3 separate regions of the Homo sapiens genome follow, and all the other regions are linked to region 2. The links are contacts of gene promoters, found by promoter capture Hi-C in human tissues and cell types (Jung and others, 2019). All regions are on one chromosome and are shown on one strand. Each heading gives the region's core, a stretch centred on a gene start or on the middle of the fragment in contact. The rest is flanking DNA. Distances are from core to core; before and after follow the strand shown.

The links. The method cuts DNA at HindIII sites, captures the fragments that hold promoters and counts their contacts. A contact is called where the count stands out against the background at its distance.
Region 1: the fragment with the promoter of RREB1 here is called in contact with the fragment with the promoter of LY86 in region 2 in 1 of the 25 tissues and cell types used here (spleen).
Region 3: a contact is called between a fragment that was not itself captured here and the fragment with the promoter of LY86 in region 2, in 2 of the 25 tissues and cell types used here (heart left ventricle and lymphoblastoid cells).

The regions. Positions count from the first base shown.
Region 1 is chr6:7,105,827-7,109,971 of GRCh38, forward strand. RREB1 (ras responsive element binding protein 1) reads left to right here and starts at 2,135. Exons shown (of 13, transcript NM_001003699.4): 1 at 2,135-2,234. RefSeq lists an enhancer at 944-1,003 and silencers at 1,354-1,833, 1,894-2,113, 2,904-3,393, 3,414-3,503. The HindIII fragment of the contact is 13,967 bases long and covers 1-4,145 here.
Region 2 is chr6:6,586,519-6,590,364 of GRCh38, forward strand. It overlaps LY86 (lymphocyte antigen 86), which reads left to right and starts at 2,202. Exons shown (of 5, transcript NM_004271.4): 1 at 2,202-2,352. The coding sequence starts at 2,217. The region is part of intron 1 of LY86-AS1 (LY86 antisense RNA 1); the gene reads right to left. RefSeq lists enhancers at 499-588, 599-728. The HindIII fragment of the contact is 16,234 bases long and covers 1-3,846 here.
Region 3 is chr6:5,987,972-5,991,677 of GRCh38, forward strand. It overlaps LOC105374898 (a long non-coding RNA gene), which reads left to right and starts at 2,915. Exons shown (of 2, transcript XR_926413.4): 1 at 2,915-3,706. The HindIII fragment of the contact is 8,341 bases long and covers 1-3,706 here.

The sequences.
Region 1 (4,145 bases), core at 885-3,384, 520 kb after region 2:
CAGGGCCCTTCCTCTGCCCTCATTGGAACACATTACAACTTAGAAACACAAGACACCTATTCTATGATGGCAATGTGAACTATTATTCCTGTCTAGAGACCTGCCCATCTCCTCCACGACTGGCCTGTCTTCAAAAAAGCATTTGATAATACATTTGGGGGCGGCGGGGTTGGGGGAGGCTCAGAAAAATGCAACCGCTAAAATTTCTCTGGATGGAGTTTTCTTCAGTAAACAGTAGACCCTGGGAAACATAACAGGTTCCGAAAACTTAATTTTGATGACTGAAAGTCAGAGAAACAGCCAGCTGAATCAGCTCCTTCTTGGGCAGTGGTTTAGCCTACTTATCTCATATCAGACCTAAGGGTCCAGCTGCTTTTCCTTGGTTCTAAAGAGTTCTATTCTGGCCAGGACCCATCCCGAGACAGACACTTCTGTCTGCAGCCCTGAAAACTAGAGGTCAATGGAAGGGCTCAAATTAAAGGCCCACAGTTGGGCTTACAACTCTCCATGGTGTTCAAGCCTTCTCAGAGGAGCTGGTGTGGTGGAGCCAGGGTCAAAGGTCATAGTAAATAGAAAGTAGCCAGCTTTCTGCCTGCATAACATCATCTTGCCTAACCAGACTCAAACGCTTAATTCTACTGTAGTATTCTTTGGACATTCTTCTTTAGAACTACGGGGGCGGGGGGGGGGGGGCGTGTTTATTTTCAACAACCACAATCATCCTTATCTTTCTGAAGATGTTTCCAAAGGCTGAGAACAGACCCCTTTCAGAACCTCGGTAGGAGAAGTATTAACAGTTGGAAACATGTCAGCTGCTTTATGGAGGAAGCACAGCCCAGGCCTGGTTTCTCTGGGCTCCGTGATAACTTGGGGCAAGGCAGCCAGTGCGAAGCGTGGTGGCAGGAGCTGGAGAGATGGAGAGCGGCTCGGAGAAGGGCCCCTGCTTTTCAGAGTTGAAACAGGAGCCCTCTGAGAGAAAGAGATACTGCGTGTGGCTTCTCTGAAGCCTTGGAGGGCGACGTGGATGACACAGCATCAGCCATTCCATCGCGGGGTGGGGACACAGTGGCGGCAGGAACCGTCCTCAGCCCCTGGCGGCCACGGCAGTTCCCCGCTGAAGCATCCTTTGTGGGGTGTGGGTAAGGGAGGGGGACCAAAGTCGGGTCGGAGTTGAGTTTGTTAGACGGCGAGCACACTCAGGGCGGCAGCCCGAGTAAGAAGGATGGCCCCGGGAGAGAAACGGCTCGAAGCTAGGGGCGGGGTGAAGCGCCTGCTCCTTAATCTCCTGCCCCATCATCCACTCGCCCCACCTGGATGCAGAGCGAGGACCGCGTGGAAAGGAAACGGCGCGGGCGGGGCTCCCCCTCGCAGATGCCTCGGAGACCCAGAGGGGCGGCGTCAGGCCAGGGCCCCGAGCCCTACGCCCCCCATCCCCCCAACTCCAGCGCCTCTGAGGTGCCCCTCTCGCAATTCCGAGGCATCACCGTGTCTCCCCCGCCTCCGTTAAAATAGTGAAACTGCGGAGTGAAGTGATGGAAAGCCGGGGGCGGGGAGTCGCCCGCGGCGAGGGGCTGCAGGGGAGGGGGCGCGGTGGCCGAATAAGGTGGCCCGCGAGCAACGGGACGATTGGGATCGCAGCCAGTCGCGGCCTCCCGGACCCTTCCCCTCGGGCAGCCCGGCCCTCCCATGGCCCGGGGCGCCTTGGGAGGGCGTAGGGCAAACCTGGGGCTGCGGTGGGGGGTGGGGAGGGGACTCCACCTCCATCCATCCCGGGATGGCAACTGCGGTCACCCTGCTAAAGTCGGGGCGGGGGCGGCGGTCCTCCCCCTCACCCCCCCCAGTCCGAGCGCCGCCGCCGCCGCCGCCGCCGCCGCCGCGGCCGCTCAGTAACACGTCCCCAGGAGACTCGCAGGAGCAACACGTGATGTGTCTACTTATCAGGGTGAGAGGGGGAGAGCGAGACTCCGAGCGTGCGGGCGAGGAAGCTGGGCGGGGGGCCGAGACGGGGGCCGGGACGACGGCTGGGGCGCCGGGGTCGCCAGCTCCTCGCCCACCTCCCTCCCTGTGGGAGAAGAGGAGGAGGGGAAGTGACTGCGGAGTTGATGAACTTTGCACATCCAGAAACGCCATTTTGATTCCTTTTCCGGAACAAGTTTGCATCTCTCCTCGGTCTCTCCCTGAAGCCCACCGGTCCCCAACGCATCATGCCAGGGAGCCAAGCGTCCTGCCCGGCCGTAAGTACGTGCCCCGGATTCCGACTCGCGGTACGCCGGCGGCAGCGAGAAGTCTGGGGCACAGCCGGAGCGACCTTTTAAAGAACTTTGGGGATGGGGAGGGTGAAGTCTGCAGAGCGCGTTGTACTTTTGAAACTCGGTGTGTCCCGGAGCCGGGGACCCGCACGCCCCACTCCGCGCAGCGTGCGCTCGGGCCGGCGGGGCGGCCAGGGATGAGCGGGGCAGCCCTCTCCCCTCGGGCTGCGCGCCGGGCCATTCCTCCTCCTCCTCCTCCTCCTCCCCTTCCTCCGCTCTTTTCCCTTTCCCGAGCCGCCGGCTCTGCCAACCAGCTCCCAGCGCGAGCCGCCGCAGCGCCCCGCCAGCAGGACCTGATGCGCATCCATATTAGCCGTCCGAGCGCAGGAATCCGGCCCGACCCGCGCCGCCGAGTTTATTTTTAACCAGCACCGCCGGGACTCGGATGGTGCGCGCACCGCCGGCCAGAAACATCTTCCCAGCGCTGCTCTCCATCTTCCGCCCTCTCTCCCTCGACATCCTCCCCCCCATGTGGGAGGGGAAACTTTTCTCCTACATACTTTCGAGTCCTTCTCGGGCCGGGAAGCGCGGAGATGACGGCGCCCGCCCTCCCGCCGCCGCCCTAAGGTATCCGGGGGTGCCTGCCCGGGGTGCTCGCGCGGGGGTGCCTGCTCGGGGCTGCTCGGTGGGAGCATCCGCCGCGCCCTGCTCTGCGGACTTTGAACCTCCCGGGCGGACGGCGCCGGCCGGGAGGGGGCCGCGGGCAGCCCCGCGCCCTCGCGGGTTCCCGGCTGGCGGTCGTGGTCACGCCGACCACCGCCCCGGGGGGCCTGGGGAGGAGGGGACCGGGCCCTAGCCGTGCGGGCACGTATTGTTCCCTCGCCCTTCCGTTGGCGGGGTGAGTGTTTTCGTGGGAGCCCTCGGTGTGGAGCTAGCCTGCCTCGCGGGCGGGGGGGGTGGGGGGCTCGGCGCCGTCACGAGCACAGGAAGGAGGCCGGGAGCATCCGAGGCGGGGCCGGCCGCCGGGGCCCGCTCCGCCGCCCAGCTGTGGAGCGCGCTCGGAAACTTTTGTCCGCCGCCCGCTGGACCAGTTTTTCACGAGTTCTGGGGCTTCCCTTCCTCCTCCCATCCCGGCCCCCGGCGTCTAGCTGGGTGGGGGGAGGGGGCCTGTTGCTGCCCCCCCCGCCCCCAACTTCCCGCACAAGCCTTGGGCCGGGCCCCCCGCGCCCCCTCCCCGCTCGCGGTCTCTTAGGAAACTGCGACCTTAATGGTTGCTAAGGAGCAGGGGAGGTCCTTCCCGTCGCCGACCCCCTCCCTGGGAAGCGGCGTGTTTTCTGGACCGGGCCAAGGGCGCGTCGAGGATGTGACCTGCTCCGCGGCCGCGCGTGAGTGCGGGGCGCGTCGGCCGAGCCCACCGATGGGCGAGGCCACCTTTCTCTCCGGGCGGGGCGGGGAGCTGGGGGACGCGGGGACCCCACGGGGTGCGGGCCCGGGCCGCTTGACAGGCGCCGCGTGCAGCTCGCGCCCCTCGGCCGCCGTGCATCCGTGATGGGTTATAAAAGAGGAGGAAAGTATTTCTCCTTGCTCAGCAGATTTGCCCTCCCTCGCTCCTTACTGGTTAGGAGATAGAACGTGAGCCCAGATCCGGACGAGCAGTTCACATTCCATTACGAAATTCTACACGGCTTCAGAGCCAGCAGCAGCACACATTCGGGGCACTTTGGAGGGGTTTTCTTCGTTTGAGGATGCTCCTGCTGCTGCTGCTTGTGATGGTGGTGGATGTGGAGAGAGACAAAAGGGTGAATAAAAAAATATAACGTTTTGGTATGTTGAAAAACCTGTCCGGGGGTTTTCATTAGTAGAAAATTGAACCCTCTTAGAGTTTAGATTTAAGCT
Region 2 (3,846 bases), core at 952-3,451:
TTCTCAAGAATCTGTACCCCTGTCTTCAGATGACACTGTTTCTGCAATAAAGCCAATGTTTGTGGCCCTGCCCAAACTCATATGTTGAAATCCTAAGCCTCAAGGTGATGGTATTAGGAGGAAAGGCCTTTGGGAGGTGATTAGGTCATAAGAATGGAGCTCTCATACATGGGATTAGTGCCTTTATAAAAGAGGCCTAAGAGAAACCCTTCGCCCCTTCCACCATGTGAGGGCACAGCCAGAAGGCACCATTTGTGAACCAGAGGCCCCTCACCAGACACTGAATCTTCTAGCACCTTAATCTCCAACTTTGGACCTCCACCCTCCAAAATGGTGAGAAATAAATGCTTGTCATTTAAGCCACCCAGTCTAAGGTATTTGTTATGGCAGCCAGAACATACTAAGACCATTTCCCTGCCACAGCTGCCCACAGCTCTCTGCTAGGTTTTCTGCTCCCTGCCCTGCACTCCTGGACTCCTCCTCCAGTGTCAATCATGACGCACTTTGCAGGGAAGGAAGTTCTCACCCTCAATTGCTCTCCTCACTCACATATGTTCAGAGCTCTCTTTACAACTGCTGGAGCACTCACATATCCCAAGGGAAAGCTTCTGTGTTCCATCCTGGACCTTCTAGGGGCTACCACGCTTCCACCAGGGCCGCTGCTCTCACCATAAGCTTCAGACTCTCATCTCCCGAGATCTTGCTCACAGCGCAGCTGCCTTCCGCTCACACAGGCCAGAGGGGCCACCTTGTCTCTTCTTAGAGCAACTTCCCACCACTCCCTTGGGGCTCAACCTTCGCTTTATGTTCTGTAAAAGCCAGCAGTTCTCAAACTTGAGACTGCATCAGGCACACCTGGAGGGCTTGTGAAAATCCAGAATGGTGAGTCCCGCCCCCCAGAGTTTCTGATTTAATAGGTCTTGAGTAGCCCAGAATTTGCATCTCTAACAAGCCCCCAGTGGAAGCTGAGGCTGTCATCTTCCCAGGCCGCACTTTGAGAACTGCTGTTGAAAGCCATCATCACTGAACTTATTTGCAGAGGTACCTAAAAATAATCAATCCACAACTGTTCCTTCTCCAAATGACCACTCTCTGATGTCTATCAAGAAATCCAAATTATTTACCAATTAATTTATTGGTAATTATGTTCCACCTATTTCAAAAAAAGTTTTGAGCTAACTCTAATTTTTGCTTAGCCATCAGCAGAAATAGTAAATTTACCTAGTGCATTCAGAAAAATGCTGTTCCTCCCAGGGAAAATAGTGTTTTCTATTGCTCCTGAAATCTGCTGACCTTGGCACTGACTCTGGTCCTCTTACATTAAGGTGAAGCTGGGGCGGGGTTGAGGAATCAAGACTGAGAAACCTTGCTGTCCTGCAGCAGAATAGAGATACATGGAAGAAGGAAGACAGAATCTTGGCTTTGAAGAGAAAGTGAGATGTGATGTCAATGATCCCACTAACACCAAAACCAGCAAACCAGCCTCCTTAAGGGTGGCCCCACCTCCCCACCCTTCCTACTTTTTCTACCAAGCCAAACCCAGAAATAGAACACGGCTCACTTCTCAGGGCTATTGCCTCTGCCTCATCTCCAGAGACCACATCTGCAGCTCCCAAAACAAGGTCTGTTCTGCAGCTGGACAATTCACTGCTAAAATCCCAAACCTAAGAGCAGAGCCAAAGCCAGAGGAGAGGAAAGTGACAATAGGGCCAAAGCCTCATTCCAGATTCCAAATGTCATTCTGTAGCCCTCGTGCTATCAACTGCTGCCTGCTGGCTGCAGCCAGGTCCCTGGGTCCATACACAGCCTGCATCAAGAGCCTGCAGAGACTCGGGGGCTGGAGATGGGAAACAGATGGTGGCCTGCGCTTTGTCTTTCCCAAGTTTACAGCCTCACCTGGGGGTGGAGGCTGTTCTGAGGGGCCCCCAAGAGGTAAGTTCACGCATCACTACTGACCCTCTCCCTGTGAAAGCAGAAAGTCAGCACGCATCCTACCCCAGACCAGACCAGCCACACCTGTAGATTCAAGGTCCTGGGGGAACAGTATTCAAATGCCTCTGCTCTCAGCCTTTTACTTCTGACTGTGGTTCCCAGCGAGTCTAAAATTTGAGAAGTGAAACTGAACATCCAACTGCCTTGGTGAGGGGAGAGGAAGAAATTTTACAGGCTTTTTATTGGCCGGTTATTTTTCTGTGTGTCCCATACAGGCCCCCACCATGAAGGGTTTCACAGCCACTCTCTTCCTCTGGACTCTGATTTTTCCCAGCTGCAGTGGAGGCGGCGGTGGGAAAGCCTGGCCCACACACGTGGTCTGTAGCGACAGCGGCTTGGAAGTGCTCTACCAGAGTTGCGGTAAGCCCTTGCAGTACACCCATGTGTGTTTATGGGGAAAGCAAGGCCCACAGATGTGAGCCGCTAGTGCTCAGTTGGAGTTGGGGTGGGAGGGGAGAGGGGACCAGCAGCTGAACACTTTCTCCACCTGCAGCAGGTCTGGGAGGGCCACTGGGAGCTTTTGGAAGAAGGAGCGGTGGGGCCAGGACTGGGAGCGGAAGAGAATGGCAGAACAACAAAGAGTACAAGAAAGAGAAATTGAATCTAAATATAGCCATTTACTAACACCACAGAACCCAAAAAAGAACAAAATGATCAGTGAGTCTACCAAATCATCAAACCTCACCAGCTGAAAATTAGGAAAAGCAGCTTCCAGTAGGCCCTTCCTCAACACCGTACACCTGGGCTACCTTTCCATCTGATGTACTTTGCAAGTGAAGTGAAAAGATCACTTCTGCCCAAAGAGAAGATTCCTGTCCCTCTCTGGACACTTTCAGAGCTTTCACTGCAGCAGTAGCTCTCATGAATTCAGCAAGCACTTCGCATGCAGCTATCAATGCCAGGGTTTCTCAGTGCTAGAGATAATAAAAGTGCATATGCCAGGCCTGTCACCCCAGCGGGCCAACCCAATACGCCAACAGATAATTGCAATTCAGTGAAGAGAATGCAGTGAACTGTGGTAAGAAGTGTCAGAACCAACCAATCGGGCTGTGTCTTAGTCAGCTAGGGCTGCCATAACAAACCACCACAGGCTGGGGACTTAAATAACAGATTTATTTCCTCACAGCTCTGGAAGCTGGGCTGGTTTCTCCTGAGACCTCTCTTCTTTGCTTCTAGGTGGCATCTTCTCCCTGTCTCCTCATGTGCTCTTCCCTCTGTGTACATCTGTGTCCTCATCTCCTCTTCTTATAAGTACACAATCATATCAGATTAGGGCCCACCTCCATGGCCTCACTTTAGCTTAATCAGCTCTTTAAAGACCCTATCTCCAGCAGGGCATGATGGCTCACACCTGTAATCCCAGCACTTTGGGAGGCTGAGGAGGGTGAACCACTTGAGGTCAAGCATTCAAGACCAGCCTGACCAACATGGAAAAACCCTGTTTCTACTAAAAATATAAAATTAGCTGGGCATGGTGGCACGCGCCTGTAATCCCAGCTACTTGGGAGGCTGAGGCAGAATTGCTTGAACCCAGGAGGTGGAGGTTGCAGTGAGCCAAGATCGTGCCATTGTACTCCAGCCTGGGCAAGAGGAGCGAAACTCTGTCTTAAAAAAAAAAAAAAAAAAAAAAAAGACCCTATCTCCACATACAGTCACATTCTAAGATACCGTAGTCCCCCCCCAGTCTGCTAGGAATACGTTCCAAGACTCCCAGTGGATGCCTGAAATCATAGATCGTTTTGAACCCTACATATACTATGGTTTTTGGACCCAATAAATGAGACAGCTACTAAGTGACGGACAGGCCGGTAGTAGAGACAACATGGATATTCTAGACAATTCGTGTTCCTGGTG
Region 3 (3,706 bases), core at 487-2,986, 600 kb before region 2:
AGTGCCTCATGGCATGGCAGCTGGCGTCCCCCAAATAAAGTAATCCAAGGGACTAAGGAGGAAACTGCAATACCTTTTATGACTTATCCTTGGGAGTCAAATTTCATTAATTTATTCATATTCTATTGGTTACACAAAGCCAGCCCTGATTCACTGTGCAAAGTGACTACACACAGGCACATATACCAGGAGTCAAGTTCACTGGAGGCCCTTTTGGAGGCCGGATCCCATGTGCATAGTCACTGTGTATGCATTAGATGATAAGCGCGTAGTCTGAGTGAAGATGAGACATGGAAAACTCTCCTCTTCAAACAAGGGGCCAGGAAAGTTATAGATTTCAAGAGTTCCTTGAATGAGAAAGAAGGAATGAAAGAAGGACCATGAGTCCTTCAGGTTTCCCTGTAGCCCGTGAAAAAATATAACAAGCTAATGAAATGTTGAGCTAGTTGTTCTGAAAGGCATAAACAGGATGTATTCAGTTGCTTCTTTTCTCTTTCCCTTTTGTTTTAGCCACCATTTTTTCATTCTCTCTTATCTGCATTGCCATGGATGTGTCTGTTCCTTTGTTTCTAACCATTGGTAGGTACTCCATGACATGCAGCCAACAATTTTATGCCTCTACTCACCAGGAATACACACGCATGCTGCCTAGGAGGAGTTTCTGAGGGAGAAAAGGCATTAGCAAGAAGTAGCCCAGAGAAGTGTTGGCATTAGCAACACCTTTATTTATTTTAAAGTTAGAACATGCAACTACATATGTGTGAGGTGGTAAGGACTGGAAATGTTCTTTACTCAATAATCATCTGTGCCAGGCACAGTGCCAGATACTGTGGGAGGTTCAAAGATGGGTGAGACATAGTCCCTGACCTCAAGGAACGTATGGTTTAAAGACAAAACGGATCAGCAGTTCTCTAATTGGGATACAAAATTAAGAACAACAAGAGGTTATTGAGGGCCATCCCAATAATTCTGACCAGGGGATCAGGGAAGTGTTCATGCAAGGTTGAGCCTGAGAAGGATCTTGAAGGAATAGGACATGCAAGGGTGGATGGGAGGCGCTGGGGTGGAAGTGCAATACATTTTAGCCTGGAAGAACTAAATAAGCAAAGGCATCGAATAGAGGAGGGGTTGCATAGGTTGAAGGAGCAAGAAGGAAGTCAGTACGGCTGTAGCACGTGCGTGGGAAACATAGAGGGCTGTGGTTGGGGAGAAGGCTGGCAAGATGAGATGGGACCAGATCCTGGTGAATCTTCGGTGTCACGCAGGGAGTCAGAGTCACTCAGCAATGATTCAGCAATGGGAAGGAAATGAAGGTTCTTAAAGGAGGGAAACGACATTTTCACACCCATGTGGAAATGGGAGAATTAATACCAGAGACACTGAGACCAAAATGTGTGTCTCTGGTTGAAGAAATTATGACTATTTTACATTTTTCCCCTTTGAGTCACCTGCAGTTTCTAATTTTCCCATAGTGAATGTGGACATGTGGTGAAAATTTAAAAATAGAATACATAAAATAGTGTTTAAAGGGTAAGATACACATGGGGGAAAAGGAGGAGGCCAATGAGAGTGGAGTGTCTGCCATTGGTAAGGAGGAACCTGGCTCTGGAGGCCACAGGCTGGAGGCCAGCCAGGAGGAAGCTGGCAAAAAGGGGAAGGAGAGGATTTCATTCATATAGTCTCCCAATATCTGCTGAGTGTTTGCCTTGGGCTGGGCACTGTTCTAGGAACTTACAATCATGTATTTGTGAAATGGCTGAGAAATGGAGAAACAGCTGCGTGCAGTAAAAGGATGGACAGGGAAGGCCTTTTTTTTTTTTTTAGGCTATAAGAGATTTGAGTGTGTTTGTAAGCTCAGGGGAAGGAGCATGTGGAGAATGAAACACAAAATGTCAAAACCAATGGAAAAGATAAAAGATGAGGTCCAAGAGCCAATCAGAAGGAATAAGGTCAGGTTTGCAAATGCAGTGTGTATGTGTGTGTGTGTATGTATCTGTGTCCCAGAAAATATCTAAATTAGAGAATATATGAACATCTGTATAAATGTGTACACATGAGCACATTTTGGATTTGAATTTATAGTGACTCCTGAAGATAAAGATTTGGGCAGAATTGGAGGCATTTTTCTCTGCCATCTACAAAAGTGTCCAAGGGCTATTCAGAAATAGGAAACAATATACCACAACCCCAATAAACAAAGCAAGTGAGGAAATGCAGTTTTCCCCATGTTATGTTCCAAAGAGCAGAAAATATTACAAGAGGATGGGAGAAGAATGGTTACACAGGAAAACACGCTGCACAAAGGGTGCAGTGCAACAGGTGGAAGGTGTGCGTGATACCAACATGACTGCCAGGCCGGCTGAGAGTATACAAGCCTCTGGGAGACCTGGCTGCCACATGGCTGGACCATCATGTCTCTGGACAGGGATTGATGGATGTGCCTCCCATGTGCTTTGATGTTCCTTATCCCCTTCAAAGTTGCCTGTTTTGAAGAATTTGTGTTTGGCCAGAGTTAAATGACCCACTTTGCTTGGGATTTCTCTCCCTGCCTCAGTGAGAGCGCAATCCAACTTGTTTCAGGTGACACCCTGAGGAGACAAGCAGAGGACTTTGAGGACTATGAAAGCCATTTTTTATAGTCACTTGCTGAAGCTCAGCTGACCCTCCCAGGAAATGGAAAGATTGAGGCAGGCCCAGGCACTGCAGTCTGTGGCAACCGGGTCAGGAAGGCGCGCTGAAGTTAATTATCCAGCCTGGCATCCCCACAAGCTTGCTTGTTTGGTGTTGCTTCTTTCTTAATCAAGAAGAGACTCCCATGGTGGTGTCTTAATGTAAACAAAGCAATTTGTGACTTGATTAACAAATCAAGGATGGACAAACATGTCCTTTTCTCCCTTCTCCTCTTTACTAGGGACTTGGACTATTTTAAGGAGTGTCTCTCGATGTGAAAGGCAGTGGCTGCCTGAGGTTTGTCTGGTTTGGTGTCTTCCTGTGTTTCTCCCTTCTTACCACATCCACAGCAAGGGATTCATTCTAGGCATTCCATAGAGACTGAACCCATTCCTTCTGTGTCCTGGGAAATGTAAAAGTTGGAAATGCAACCCCCATTAAAAGCAATTCAACATGTGATTTGTCCAGGTGATGAGGTATGTAGCTAATATTAGTCGCCGTGATTTATCGAGAGAATAACTACCTGGTGATAGATTTTTCATGAATGTATCTCAAGTCATCTATCACTGTGACAATGAACTTTTCATATCTGGGCAGGCCTGTGATGGTTACAGAAACCAATAACTCCTTTAATAGAACTGCATGTCCATTAAATTACTGGAGGGAAAGAAAGAAAACAGGAAGGTCTTACAGCTAAAAAGGGCACAACATAGGGGAAAAAATAACAAAAAAAGATTCTATGACGAGACATTGTGAAAAATCAACACAAGGTTTTTGTTTTGTTTTGTTTTGTTTTTTGTCCTTAGAAATTAATTCTACAATGTCTTCTTTTTCTCACAAACACCATCACCCCACGTTGAAATGAAGCTGCTGTCTCCTCTGAATGCACACATGGACAAAGAAGGGCCCTGAGAAATCCCTAGTACACATACATCCTGAACCCTCAGGCCTCACTGGTGTGATGTGTTCCCTTAACTAAACTGGTACAGTGCAAATAATGACTTGTACTAGTTTTCTATTTGCAGTTTTAACAAAT